4 separate regions of the Homo sapiens genome follow, and regions 2, 3 and 4 are each linked to region 1. The links are contacts of gene promoters, found by promoter capture Hi-C in blood cells and fetal thymus (Javierre and others, 2016). All regions are on one chromosome and are shown on one strand. The core of a region is centred on a gene start or on the middle of the fragment in contact, and the rest is flanking DNA. Distances in the headings are between cores, read along the strand shown.

The links. Contacts are between HindIII fragments. The CHiCAGO score rates a contact against its expected background, and 5 or more counts as called.
Region 2: a fragment that was not itself captured here is called in contact with the fragment with the promoter of SLC15A4 in region 1 in 1 of 17 cell types (M2 macrophages); the score reaches 7.6 in M2 macrophages.
Region 3: a fragment that was not itself captured here is called in contact with the fragment with the promoter of SLC15A4 in region 1 in 1 of 17 cell types (M2 macrophages); the score reaches 8.9 in M2 macrophages.
Region 4: a fragment that was not itself captured here is called in contact with the fragment with the promoter of SLC15A4 in region 1 in 1 of 17 cell types (M2 macrophages); the score reaches 5.3 in M2 macrophages.

Annotation. Positions count from the first base shown.
Region 1 is chr12:128,822,509-128,825,815 of GRCh38, reverse strand. SLC15A4 (solute carrier family 15 member 4) reads left to right here and starts at 1,858. Exons shown (of 8, transcript NM_145648.4): 1 at 1,858-2,418. The coding sequence starts at 1,873. LOC124903083 (a long non-coding RNA gene) reads right to left here and starts at 1,872. Exons shown (of 2, transcript XR_007063602.1): 1 at 1-1,872. RefSeq lists an enhancer at 1,948-2,107. The HindIII fragment of the contact is 5,029 bases long and covers 712-3,307 here.
Region 2 is chr12:129,948,645-129,951,652 of GRCh38, reverse strand. No RefSeq gene overlaps it. Among named protein-coding and RNA genes, the nearest start is that of TMEM132D, 46 kb to the right of the region's middle. RefSeq lists an enhancer at 1,824-1,993. The HindIII fragment of the contact is 2,547 bases long and covers 425-2,971 here.
Region 3 is chr12:129,928,876-129,931,847 of GRCh38, reverse strand. No RefSeq gene overlaps it. Among named protein-coding and RNA genes, the nearest start is that of TMEM132D, 26 kb to the right of the region's middle. The HindIII fragment of the contact is 1,756 bases long and covers 437-2,192 here.
Region 4 is chr12:129,997,845-130,001,154 of GRCh38, reverse strand. No RefSeq gene overlaps it. Among named protein-coding and RNA genes, the nearest start is that of LINC02418, 43 kb to the left of the region's middle. RefSeq lists an enhancer at 3,284-3,310. The HindIII fragment of the contact is 6,986 bases long and covers 1-3,310 here.

The DNA.
Region 1 (3,307 bases), core at 609-3,108:
GAGGGAATGATGAAGGAAGAGGAGGTGGTCTTACACTAATTGAATCATTGCAGCAGCTGTGGATCACGATTCCTTTCTTTCTTGCCTTTTTTTTTTTTTTTTTTTGAGACAGGGTCTCACTATGTCACCCAGGCTGGAGTGCAGTGATGCCCTCACTGCTGAATGCAGCCTCTACCTCCCGGGCTCAAGCAATCCTCTTGCCTCAGCCTCCCAAAGTGCTGAGATTATAGGCGTGAGCCATCATCCCAGGCCGGGGTCTCAATTTCTTTTTTTTTTGTCTTTTTTTTTTTTTTTGAGACGAAGTCTCACTCTGTCACCAGGCCGGAATGCAGTGGCACAATCTCGGCTCACTGCAACCTCTGCCTCCCTGGTTCAAGCGATTCTCCTGCCTCAGCCTCCTGAGTAGCTGGGACTACAGGCGCCTGCCACCACGCCCAGCTAATTTTTGTATTTTTAGTAGAGACGGGGTTTCACCATGTTGGCCAGGATGGTATCGATCTCTTGACCTCGTGATCCGTCCGCCTCGGCCTCCCAAAGTGCTGGGATTGTAGACGTGAGCCACCATCCCAGGCCGGGGTCTCAATTTCTGAAGCCATGCTGAGGGCCATTTTTGGGCGGCACTCTTTCACTCCACTATGTGCCAGGCGCTGTCCCAGAGGCAGGGGGCACAGTGAGGAACAAAACACAAGAGAATCCTGCCATCAGGAAGCTTACACCTGTTAACACATGCAGGTTGGGGAGATAAACGAATAAATTAAAAAATGTAACAGGTAATAAGGAGAAAAGAGTAACATGATGGAATGGGATACTCGGGCCTTGGACAGGCTAGTGAAAAAAATGTTTCTCTGAAGTCAACACTTCGGTGGAAGGTTGAAGGATGAGAAGCCAGCCATGCAACCATAGATGGTGTAGGGGCAGTCTCTGGGAAAGCCTGAAACAGGCTGGAGCTTGCCTTGTTCTAAGCCAGTGAGTCTCAATGGGGGCGTATTTGCCCCCAGGAGTCCTTCGGCAAAGTCTAGAAGACATTTTCGGTTGTTAACCTGAGGTGCTAGGGGGTGGAACTGGCCCCTAGTGGATAGCAGAGGCCAAAGCTGCTGCTGAACATCGTGCAACGCACAGGACAGTCCCGTCGCTCAAAGTGCCAACGATGCACGGGTTGAGAAACCGGGTCCTCTCCAGGACTGAAGCCCAGGGCAGGGAGCACGGGGGCAGCCTGAGCAAACCCGCCTGGAGAGCAGCCGCCGTCTCAGTGTGAGTTTTGGCTGCCTACTGGGCCCCACCGAAGCCCGAAGAGGGCCAGGCTCCGGCTTCTTTGTTTAAACTCCCTTAGTCCGACTGCCTGCAGTGGCTCATGCACGTAATTCCAACACTATGGGAGGCTGAGACGTGAGGAACGCTTGATGCCAGGAGTTCGAGACCAACCTGAGCAACAAAGCGAGACCCCATTTCAAAAAACTGTTTAAAAATTAGCCACAGGCAGCGGCGAGCGCCTGCGGTCCCAGCTACCCGGGAGGCTGAGGTGGGAGGGCCGCTTGATCCTGGGAAGCTGAGGCTGCAGTGAGGCGTAACCGCATGACTGCGCTCCAGCCTGGGCGAGAGAGGGAAACCCTGTCTCAAAAAGGCAAACAAAGGCTCTCGGCCGCCAAGCTGCGGAATCCCAAGCTCCCCAAGACACGCAGTGATCCAGAATACCGGCCACCTCCTCGCCTAGTGCCCGGGGCGGGGCCGGAAGTTCCGGCGAGTGGGGCGTTGAGCAGCGGCGAGCCCGCCCAATAGGGACATCTCAGGCCCGGCAGTCTCGCGAGAAGGGCGGCGGCCCTGGGTTCTGGGACAGGTGACCCGGCGGCGGGGCGAGGCAGCTGGCGGCGTCGCATGGAGGGCTCTGGGGGCGGTGCGGGCGAGCGGGCGCCGCTGCTGGGCGCGCGGCGGGCGGCGGCGGCCGCGGCGGCGGCTGGGGCGTTCGCGGGCCGGCGCGCGGCGTGCGGGGCCGTGCTGCTGACGGAGCTGCTGGAGCGCGCCGCTTTCTACGGCATCACGTCCAACCTGGTGCTATTCCTGAACGGGGCGCCGTTCTGCTGGGAGGGCGCGCAGGCCAGCGAGGCGCTGCTGCTCTTCATGGGCCTCACCTACCTGGGCTCGCCGTTCGGAGGCTGGCTGGCCGACGCGCGGCTGGGCCGGGCGCGCGCCATCCTGCTGAGCCTGGCGCTCTACCTGCTGGGCATGCTGGCCTTCCCGCTGCTGGCCGCGCCCGCCACGCGAGCCGCGCTCTGCGGTTCCGCGCGCCTGCTCAACTGCACGGCGCCTGGTCCCGACGCCGCCGCCCGCTGCTGCTCACCGGCCACCTTCGCGGGGCTGGTGCTGGTGGGCCTGGGCGTGGCCACCGTCAAGGCCAACATCACGCCCTTCGGCGCCGACCAGGTGAGCCGCGCCCCCGCGCGCTGTCCCTGTCCCTGTCCAGCCCCTGCCCAGCCCCAGCCTCTTCCCCTGCCCCAGTCCCTGCCTCTGACCGCGGAGGGAGCCCCTTGCCCCGGGGGGCTTCTGTCTAGTGCCGAGGAATCCCGCCAGCAGGTGGGCCAAGACTGGAGGTACCGGTGTGATGGGTGCTGGAAGGGGTTTGCCTGGGGCGGGGTGAGGTCTACACACACAGTGATGGCCACAGTGGCTTTAAAGAAAAGAGAGGCCGGGCGCGGTGGCTCACGCCTGTAATTCCAGCACTTTGGGAGGCCGAGGCGGGAGGATCTCTTGAGCCCAGGACTTTGAGACCAGGTTGGGCAACACAGTGAGACCTCATCTCTACCAAAATTTAAAAATTTGCCCTCCGTGGAGGCGCACACCTGTAGTCCTAGCAGAGAAAGGAGGATTCCTTGAGCCTACGAGTTTCGGAGGCTGCAGTGAGCTAGGGTCACACCAGTGCACTCTAGCTTGGGTAACAGAGTGAGACCCCACCTCAAAAAAATAAATAAATAAAATTTAAAAAATACGCTGAGCGCAGTGGCTCACGCCTGTAATCCCAACACTTTGGGAGGCCGAGGTGGGTGGATCACCTAAGGTCAGGAGTTCGAGACCAGCCTGACCAGCCTGGCTAAAAATACAAAAATTAGCCGAGCGTGGTGGCGGGCACCTGTTCTCTCAGCTAGTCGGGAGGCTGAGGCAGGAGAATCGCTTGCACCCGGGAGGCAGAGGTGCGATGAGCCGAGATCGCGCCACTCCACTCCTCCAGCCTGAGCGACAGAGCGAGACTCTGTCTCCAAATAAAAATAAATAAATAAATAAAAAATAAATGAACGGGACCCTTCTATGTTCAGGC
Region 2 (3,008 bases), core at 449-2,948, 1.1 Mb before region 1:
GAGGTTTCCTAGGATGTGAGATTTTCCAGCACTAAACTTAGAGGATTCAGGGACAAACCAGCCCAGTTGATCATCCTAAATCTAAGGTTACTATTGAGTTTTTTGAAATATTCATGTGTTGACGAATAAAATCTTTTCACTTTCAAATGATAGACAATGAACTCTAGTTTGCTTAATAAATAATCATCCACTTGTTCACTTAATGGGAAGTGTAGACTTCAGAAAGTCCTGGCTTTAGGGAGGGTAGGAATTGGAGGCTCATAAGATGTGGTTAGAAACCTGTGCTACTGTCTATTCCTCAGTACTGCTTTCCTCATGCGGGCTTCATTTTAAGACAGGCTGTCTCTCAGGAGAACAAATTGTGATTGCCACTTCTGGTTGTCTTTCTGCTGGCTCATTCAAATCAGCATTGGGAAGGTAAGCTTGTCTCTCCCATCATATCTTCAGCTCAAGGGCCAGGGCAGACCCTCACAGACTTCACTTTGGTCCTAGGCTAATGCCTGACTCAGCTAATATTTTGTATTTTTTTTTTAAGAGTCGGGGTCTCACTATGTTGCCGAGACTAGTCTTGAACTCCTGCACTCAAATGATCCTCCCTGCTTTGGCCTCCCAAAGTGCTGGGATTACAGGTATGAGCCACTGTGCCTGGCCCCTTTTCTATCATTTTTAACAAGTGTCAGAATAATTTATTTTCTTTGACGTTGGCCATCCATAGTTGACTAATATCAAGAGTTATTTTGCTTATGGAGGAATATTTTGATCACTGGGCTGGTGCTCAAATTTCCATTGGAAATTTCTAATGGAGACAAGTCTCCATTGCATAAGAGACTTGACTCCAACTGGCATAAGAAGAAAAGGAGATTTTTGTGGTTCATACAGTTGGAAACTCCATGGATCATCTTCATATTATGTATGGTTCAATCTACGAGCACGGAAAAAATAGCATCAGAGTCTGATTTCCCCCAAATGCTCCTCATTGTCACAAGATGGCTGCTGCAGGGGAGAACTCTACATGTTCTCCCCTTCAGGACAAAGAAAGAACCTGCCTCACTCCTAAAAGCTCAGCACAAGTCTCACTGCACCTGTTTAGCTCTCATTGGGCCATGCAACATGACTAAACCCACCATGGCTAAGGCAATGGGATGCTTTGATGGGCTGACACAATAACCACCTCTAATGCAAGGGATGAAGAAACCCATTCATGTGACCTGATGATGGTTGGTGTGAACCTGCCAGAAAGAGACTGACACACTATTTTGCCAGAAATACAGGCAATGAATATTGAACAGAAAAAAATACAGTGGTCCACTTAGCAATGCTCCCTCACTCATAGTTCATATTAATATTTCTTGCATTGAATGCAGGATAAATTAACAAATATCTCCAGAATAGTTGGGGCTTAGATAAACATTCACACAACAGACACAAAGCTCTAAATGGCCCCATTGAGGGCCAGAAGGACAATGACGTCTGGCACAAAACATCCCTTCATTTATGGAAGCAAAAACTGGCCACTGGAGTCATGCCTTAAAACAGAGCTCCAGACAGAATCCAAAAATTGCGTTTTAGTTGCAATAGTATGGCAGTAACTGTCTGTTGGTGGTGTTTGCTGTCACGTCTCACATTGTCATTTGCATGGGCTGCTGTCCATATTCTCAATAAACAGGCCCTGCCTGTAGCCTGGCTTACACGTTATTTTTCTAAGTTGGTAAATAATGAAATGAGATGTGGGGTGTCACGCGTGCTGTTGGCACATACTGGTACAAACATGTGCCGCTCGGTTCCGTTGACGCTGCTCCCATCTGGCCTAAATATAGAGACATCGATTTTCCTCCAGATGGTGCTGCGGCTTTCAGTGGATTGCTCTTTTTTCTACTAATAAGCACGGAGCTCGTCCCGCCTAATGACGGAACCCTGGGATGCGAACATCTGGGGGAAGCTCAAGGTGTCTTGTCAGTTGACTTGCAAGCTCCACGTGGAAGAGTTCAATGAATCTTTGGTGGTAACAGGAGCTCCAGCTGCTGAATTAATTATCAGGCACCAGGGGAGTGAGACGGTGACCTGGGGAGAAGCCCTTTGGCCCTGGGTCCCCCTTTCTCATCCATAGAAGGGAAGCGGTGAGCCTCAGGAAGTGAGAAGGCACTACTGCCTGTCTGGGCCCAGTGATTCAACTGCTCTGCTCTTGGGAGCCCTGGGACCTTTCCCAGGATGGAAAAATGCAACCATTGCTTTCCAGGAAGAAAGGACTGTAGGGAGGAACTGGAACCTGGCTGTTTGCCAAGGAAGCCAAGCAAAGCCACCCAAAGCAAGGTGAGACTCCAGTGAAGAGGAGCTGTGGGTTCTCCAACCCATTCTCACTTGGCCAATTTTTTATTTTTGTGTTTTGGAGATAAAGTCTGGCTCTGTCACTCCACAGGCTGGAGCTCAGTGGTGCAATCAAGGCTCCGTGCAGCCTCAACCTCCCAAGCTCAAGTGATTCTCCCACCTGAGCCTCCCAAGTAGCTGGGACTACAGGCGTAAACCACCACACACAGCTAATTTTTGTATTTTTGTAGAGATGGGGTTTCGCCCTGTTGCCCAGGCTGGCCTTGAACTCCTGGGCGCATGCAATCCACCCACCTCGGCCTCCCAAAGTGCTGGGATTACAAGTATGAGCCACCATGCCCTGCCATCACATGGCCAATTTCAGCAAACGACTTCTAAGTCCACCTGCCTCACTTATTTCTACTTTCCAATAGAAAGGGAACTGGATAATAAAAAAGAATTGAAGAGAAACATTCCTAAGCTGTATGTTATTTGGTTTATGGGATGATCACGGTCTCATGCACCTGGTTAGATACAACCAGATGACGCCCTGCAAGAGACAGGATGACATTGCAGCTCAGAGCACAGATTCAAGAGCTAGAAAGCCTGCCTGGGATTCCTGTCCTGACACTTTCTACTTAGGTGACCCTGGGAAGTTACTTAAGCTTTCTGCCTTCAGTCTCCTTATCTTTAAATGGGAAAAA
Region 3 (2,972 bases), core at 65-2,564, 1.1 Mb before region 1:
TGTTTATGACATTGTTTGAGCTCAGGTGAAGCCGGCCCTACAGACAGAGCTGAGCCTTCTCAGTTCCGTGGTTTAACAAATTATCGTTTTCCTTACGCAGTTTGTGTTGGATGATGAAAGTTTCATTTGTGAGTGAAACATTAAATGGCGAAAGTTAACATTTGATGTTTGGCTTAAATAATTTTCTTGATGCGAAGAGGAAGGATGACCCACTTATTTTTTAAAAAATTTAAAAAATTGCCTTTACGTCAATCATTATGAAAGAGCTCTTCCCCCCTGCCATTTGCAGTCCTGCCCCTTCACAGAGAGAATTAACGATGGAAATTAGGTTGAGGGGTTTATTTGTTTGTTTGTTTAGAGATACACCAAATTCAGCCATTAGGCAGCAATACACAGAACTGAGTTTCTCACCTTCATTAACAAGTGACAAAAAGCTTTGATGTTTTAAGATATGAGGGAGAATATGGTGGCTTCAGAAGAAAAACATTATCTTCTTTCTCCTGTGATATGTTCCTGTATTTCTCTCTTGTATTTATTCTTACAATAATAATTGAATAATTAATAGCATCACAAGTCTGGCTAATTATGACTACTTATCTAGCTTGCTAGAATATTAACTGCTTTGAGGCATGATTTGTGTCATCTCATGGGCTACTCTTTCCTTTCTACATTGTAGGAAGTCAGGAACAATTTGGTGCAAGAATGAGGAAACCAAGCTCAGAGCTTCTTTTTTTTTTTATTATACTTTAAGTTTTAGGGTACATGTGCACAACATGCAGGTTTGTTACATATGTATACATGTGCCGTGCTGGTGTGCTGCACCCATTAACTCGTCATTTAACATTAGGTATATCTCCTAATGCTACCCTCCCCACTCCCCCCACCCCACAACAAGCCCCGGTGTGTGATGTTCCCTTTCCTGTGTCCATGTGTTCTCATTGTTCAGTTCCCACCTATGAGTGAGAACATGCGGTGTTTGGTTTTTTGTCCTTGCGATAGTTTGCTGAGAATGATGGTTTCCAGCTTCATCCATGTCCCTACAAAGGACATGAACTCATCATTTTTATGGCTGCATAGTATTCCATGGTGTATATGTGCCAAATTTTCTGCTATAAAGACACATGCACACGTATGTTTATTGCGGCACTATTCACAATAGCAAAGACTTGGAACCAACCCAAATGTCCAACAATGATAGACTGGATCAAGCTCAGAGCTTCTAAGTAACGTGTCCAAGATCACAAACCTGGTATTTAAGCTGTAACGAAAGCTCCCTGTTCATAACCTCTAAGGGGCAAGGATTCAAGGGAAAGAAGAAGACCTGGCATCCTGAGTCATCCTGTCAGAGGCTGATCCAAAGCCAGCATGGAGATGATGGCAGAGAGGAGGTACATTGAACCAGCTCTCAAAAAACTGATGGGTTGTCTCACAGGTGAAAATTTAAGAGGCTCCACAGGTGTGAGCTTCAGCAGATGAAGTTTTCCGTCTGCGTGCGGAAGAGCAGCGACCTGAAGGAGATCCCCGTGACCTAGGAGATGGAAGACAACCTTGAGCACCATGAAGTGGCCCGGGGTCAGGGTGGGCAAGAGCGCAACACCCAGGCTACCGGGCTGCTCTGGAAGGGGTTTGTTCAGAGATAAAAAGAAGTTCATTGAGCACCTGAATCCAGCCATGCCTGAAGCTCGTATTTCCTATCAACCGTATGGTGATATGAACCAAACTGCTTTTTTTCCTTTGGTCACTTTGAGTAGAGTGACACAATTCAGGGGAAACACAGGTTTTGTGAGGGCAGGAACTAGAGAGGTCTGCTGTCAGGCATTTGGAGGCACTGGGGAATGAGTGCATTGGGAAGAGGAAGGTGGATCAGCACCTTAGTCTGAGTCTGACCTGGAAAACTGAGTCCACGCCAGGTGCCTTCAGGGGTGACTTAACTGGGCCACTAATGAGAATTACTGGAAGAGCCGAAATGCCAGAGGTCGTGAGGAAACCAGGGAGCCTGTGCCATGCAAGGGCTGGAGGGACAACAACAGGGAAACAGGGAGAGGACACTGTGAGGTCAGAGAGTGACACTCCTTAACAAGAACTGCCGCCCATGAGGCGTCCCTCCTCCTGCCTTCCAGTCCCCTGCCCAAACCCTCACTGGCCAACCTAGTCAGAGACCAGGAGGCCAGGCATCCTGGAGAAAGCAAGCTTCAAGGGTCGGGATCACTGAGGCAGAGCAGAGCATGGAGGGGAGGGGCAGGGGAGCTGTCTGAGGCAACCGCAGTGGTAGTGCGGGATGGAGGGAGGCAGGAAGAAGAGAATTCATTCACCGTGTGGGGGCCTGGGAAGCCCTGAGTTCAATTCCCTGCTTGAAACTCAGAGGCCTGCATGGAATGGACACGATGAAAGAAAAATTACTTTTGAAAACCTCATTAGCACCCAGATGTTTTGTTATTAGATAATAATTTAATATAAAAAGGAAATGTAATGATTATAGTCATACACTATTATAATATAAACTGTGCCCCCATGAGATCTGAATTTCTTTCTTTTCTTACTTCTCTGAAGGCCCCCAAGCTTTTGGGATGCAAACGCTGCTTCCTCACACATTAGCCAAAGCAATTAAATTATTTATTAATGGCGCTTATTTAATTTGATATCTTGGGAGCTTTCTGTGCATGTCTGATGTCATTTGGGAAACAGACCTTTGTTTTTCATTTTTGTTTTAGAAAACATATTTGAGAGTGAATTATTCATGGGATTGTTTAATTTGGGGTGGGGGGAGTTTAATTATTTTGAGGCTGTGTGTCATTTTCACTTCCTTTGAAGACTGCCAGGAGTTAATTAGCCATCCCTAAATGAAATAGAACACTTTTCTCATTGCTTTTTGGATCAATATTTATTTTTTTCTGGATTACTTTTCATTTGTGATAATAGCTTTTATTAAGGTAAGTGATTTTATACATGTTTTGCAATCCATATGTGGCCGT
Region 4 (3,310 bases), core at 157-2,656, 1.2 Mb before region 1:
CAGCTCCTACTTATAAGTGAGAACATGTGGCGTTTGGTTTTCTGTGCCTGCATTAGTTTGCTGAGGATAATGGCTTCTAACTCCATCCGTGTTCCTGCAAAGGACATGATGTCATTCCATTTCATGGCTGCATGGTATTCCACGGTGTATATGTACCAGATTGTCTTTATCCAGTCTATCATTGATGAATCCCCAGTTTTTATGGATGGCAAATGCCAGCACTCTCTTCTGGTCTCTCACCTATTCCAGAGAACCAGTGTTGTCCCGGTTTGGAAAGGCAGCTTGTGGGAGGTGGGCTTCATGTCTCCCACATGCATCACGTAAGCAGAACGCAGATGATTCCTCCTTATTATTAACAGGGTGAGGATGGAAAGGAATGAGAGCAAGTGACCCACATGCCCCCACCACCCATGCATCACTCTTCGTGCTCAGGTCTTCTCGTCCTTTAGTTCTTAGGTTATATTTTCCAGAGAGGGCTCCTTGGAACCCAGGAACCAGACAATTCCTCTTACTCAATAGCTCCAAGTTAACCCCTCGCATCCCCTTCCTGACTCTCATCCTTCCTTTTGTTTTTATTTTCAGTTATTTATTTATTTCCTGTAGTTTAATTTCACTAAAGATAATGTCAAAGAGAACAGGCTAATTTCTCTAGGAAAAGGAAGAACGTCTCAGGTCACTATAAAAAAAAATCACAATTTTCTTCTGATTCAGCACCACTGCTATTATCAACTTTATGCCAGTTATCTATCAATTCAAGTAAAGTTTTATGAACCTTAAAATACGTAAGCACTCCTTGTGTTTTATAGAACAAAGCGTTATTGACATTTCAATATTTTATATGTAGAGGATAAATGCATATTGATAATTGTGGAGCTGTTCGAAATGATAGGGGGATGCAGATTGATTTTGGGTCCTATAAAAGACTATGGGCAAGGAGGTGGAGGGCGGTTTCCTAGGTAGGATGCTTGCACCAAGATGCTGCACAGAGTTTTGGTGAATTGAGCAAAATGTAAAAACAAGATGAGGTCCAGAGAATGATTAGCAGAGAAAGCAGATGCAGAAATCTCAATGAGGCTCTGCTAGGCAGAGATACAGAGTCCTAAGACCCACCTCTATCTTTTGGGAACCTGGTGACAAAGAAGTGGCTCTTTAATATCCCTGAGAGTGAGTCCTCTCTTTGTGTTTTTCTACCTATAGATCCAAAAGAGCACCCCAGAATTAAAGAACATAAAAAATGGAAGAAGGTTTAGAACTCACCTGGTTTAATTGTTCTCAACCCAAGTCATGCTGAGAAGGGCTGGGCAGGGGTGTTGGCATCAGAAATGCAAAAACTTCATTCCTGATTATTTTAAGTCCGAACTTTTAGGGCAGCATCCAGGAATCCGAATTTCAAAAAAACTCTCTGGGTCATTTTGATGCATATTCCCAAATAGGAATCTTTGATGAAGCCATTCTCTCCCTCCACTTTACAAGTAAAGAAGCAGAGGCCTTCTACAAGTCCTTTGACTTACATTTCTCTGAGTTTCATTGTGGAGACAGCAACTCACATCTCTATTCCTCGCCCTGACCTGGGTGAGGTCATATGACTAATTCTGTCCAATGAGATGTGGGCAGAAGTGACGTAATCCATTCTAGGCCTGGCCCTTAATTTTCCCAAGTTCCCAAAGGAGACTTCCTTGTTGATTTGATTATCAGAATAAGGCCAGGCACGGTGGCTCACACCTGTAATCCCAGCACTTTGGGAGGCCGAGGCGGGCGGATCACGAGATCAGGAGATTGAGACCATCCTGGCTAACATAGTGAAACCCCGCCTCTACTAAAAATACAAAAAATTATCCGGGCGTGGTGAAGGGCGCCTGTAGTCCCAGCTACTGGGGAGGCTGAGGCAGGAGAATGGCGTGAGCCCGGGAGGCGGAGCTTGCAGTGAGCCGAGATTGCGCCACTGCACTCCAGCCTGGGCGACAGAGCCAGACTCCGTCTCAAAAAAAAAAAAAAAAAAAAAAAAAAATTTATTAGACTAGAAAAGCAATTAAAAAATGAATAACCAGGCCGGGCGCAGTTGCTCGTGACTGTAATCCCAGCACTTTAGGAAGCCGAGGTGGGTGGATAACCTGAGGTCAGGAGTTCAAGACCAGCCTGGCTAACCTGGTGAAACCCCTTCTCTATGAAAAATACAAAAATTAGCTGGACGTGGTGGTGGGCGCCTGTAATCCCAGCTACTCGGGAGGCTGAGGCAGGAGAATCGCTTGAACCTGGGAGGCAGAGGTTGCAGTGAGACAAAATTGCGCCATTGCACTCCACCCTGGGTGACAGAGTGAGTCTCCCATCTCAAAAAAAAAAAAGAAAAGAAAAAAAAAGTGAATAACCTCAGTATGGATTCAATGTTATATCTGTTATAAAAAATATTTAAAACTTAATAGGCAAAAATTAACTCTTAGGTGTTCCTCTGTGGTTGGCTTTCTATTGACTGAACTATTTTAAAACTGTAGAAGTTCACTTAGAGAATACAGCAGTGCATGTGATTCTTATCTGAGAGCAACACAAATGTTTCCTCTCTGCAGTAATGCAAATCGATGTTGCTCATTGTAGATGCAATTGATTTCCATGCTTTAAAACATTTTACAAGTTTTTCCAATTATTTCTATCATTGCTACTGAAAACTTGGGAGCAATGTGTTCCACAGGGAACAGCTTGGATCCTTGAGTCACAACTGGAGAACCTCTGCCCTTGTGAACTGGTGGCTTGCATTTGACACTGATGTGAGCACAAAATAAACATTTATTGTAGCCACTGAGGTTTCAGGCTCATCTGCTGTAGTGGCTGGAGTTAATTACACTGAGATTGGTATTAAAGAGATTGGTATATATGGGGATTGGATGGTGGGTGTGTATTGAAAGACTATGGCTTGTGAAGTTCTCTCCTCAACTCTCTATGTAAGGACAGGTCTGGGCTGGTGAGATTAGAGAGATGTTCTCTGTTTAAACATGGGTCCTCATGTTTGAAATGTCACCACGGGAACTTCCTTGTGTGGGTTTCAATGTTGTGCCTTGGGAGGAGTTGCAGATGGCGTGATCACAAAAGGGTGAATGAGCTTGTCAGATCTTAGACAATAGTAGACATGTAGGCTCTGCAGTCAGGCAGATTTGACTTCCAGTCCTGCCTCTCAACTTGCTAGTTTGTCTTATCACCTTCTCTCTGAGCCTGTTTCCTATCTGTCAATGGGGACAACACACATGCCTATCTCACAGGATTTCTATTAGAAGAAATTGAAACACGTTCACATGAAGCATCCTTAGCAAATGTTTGGCTA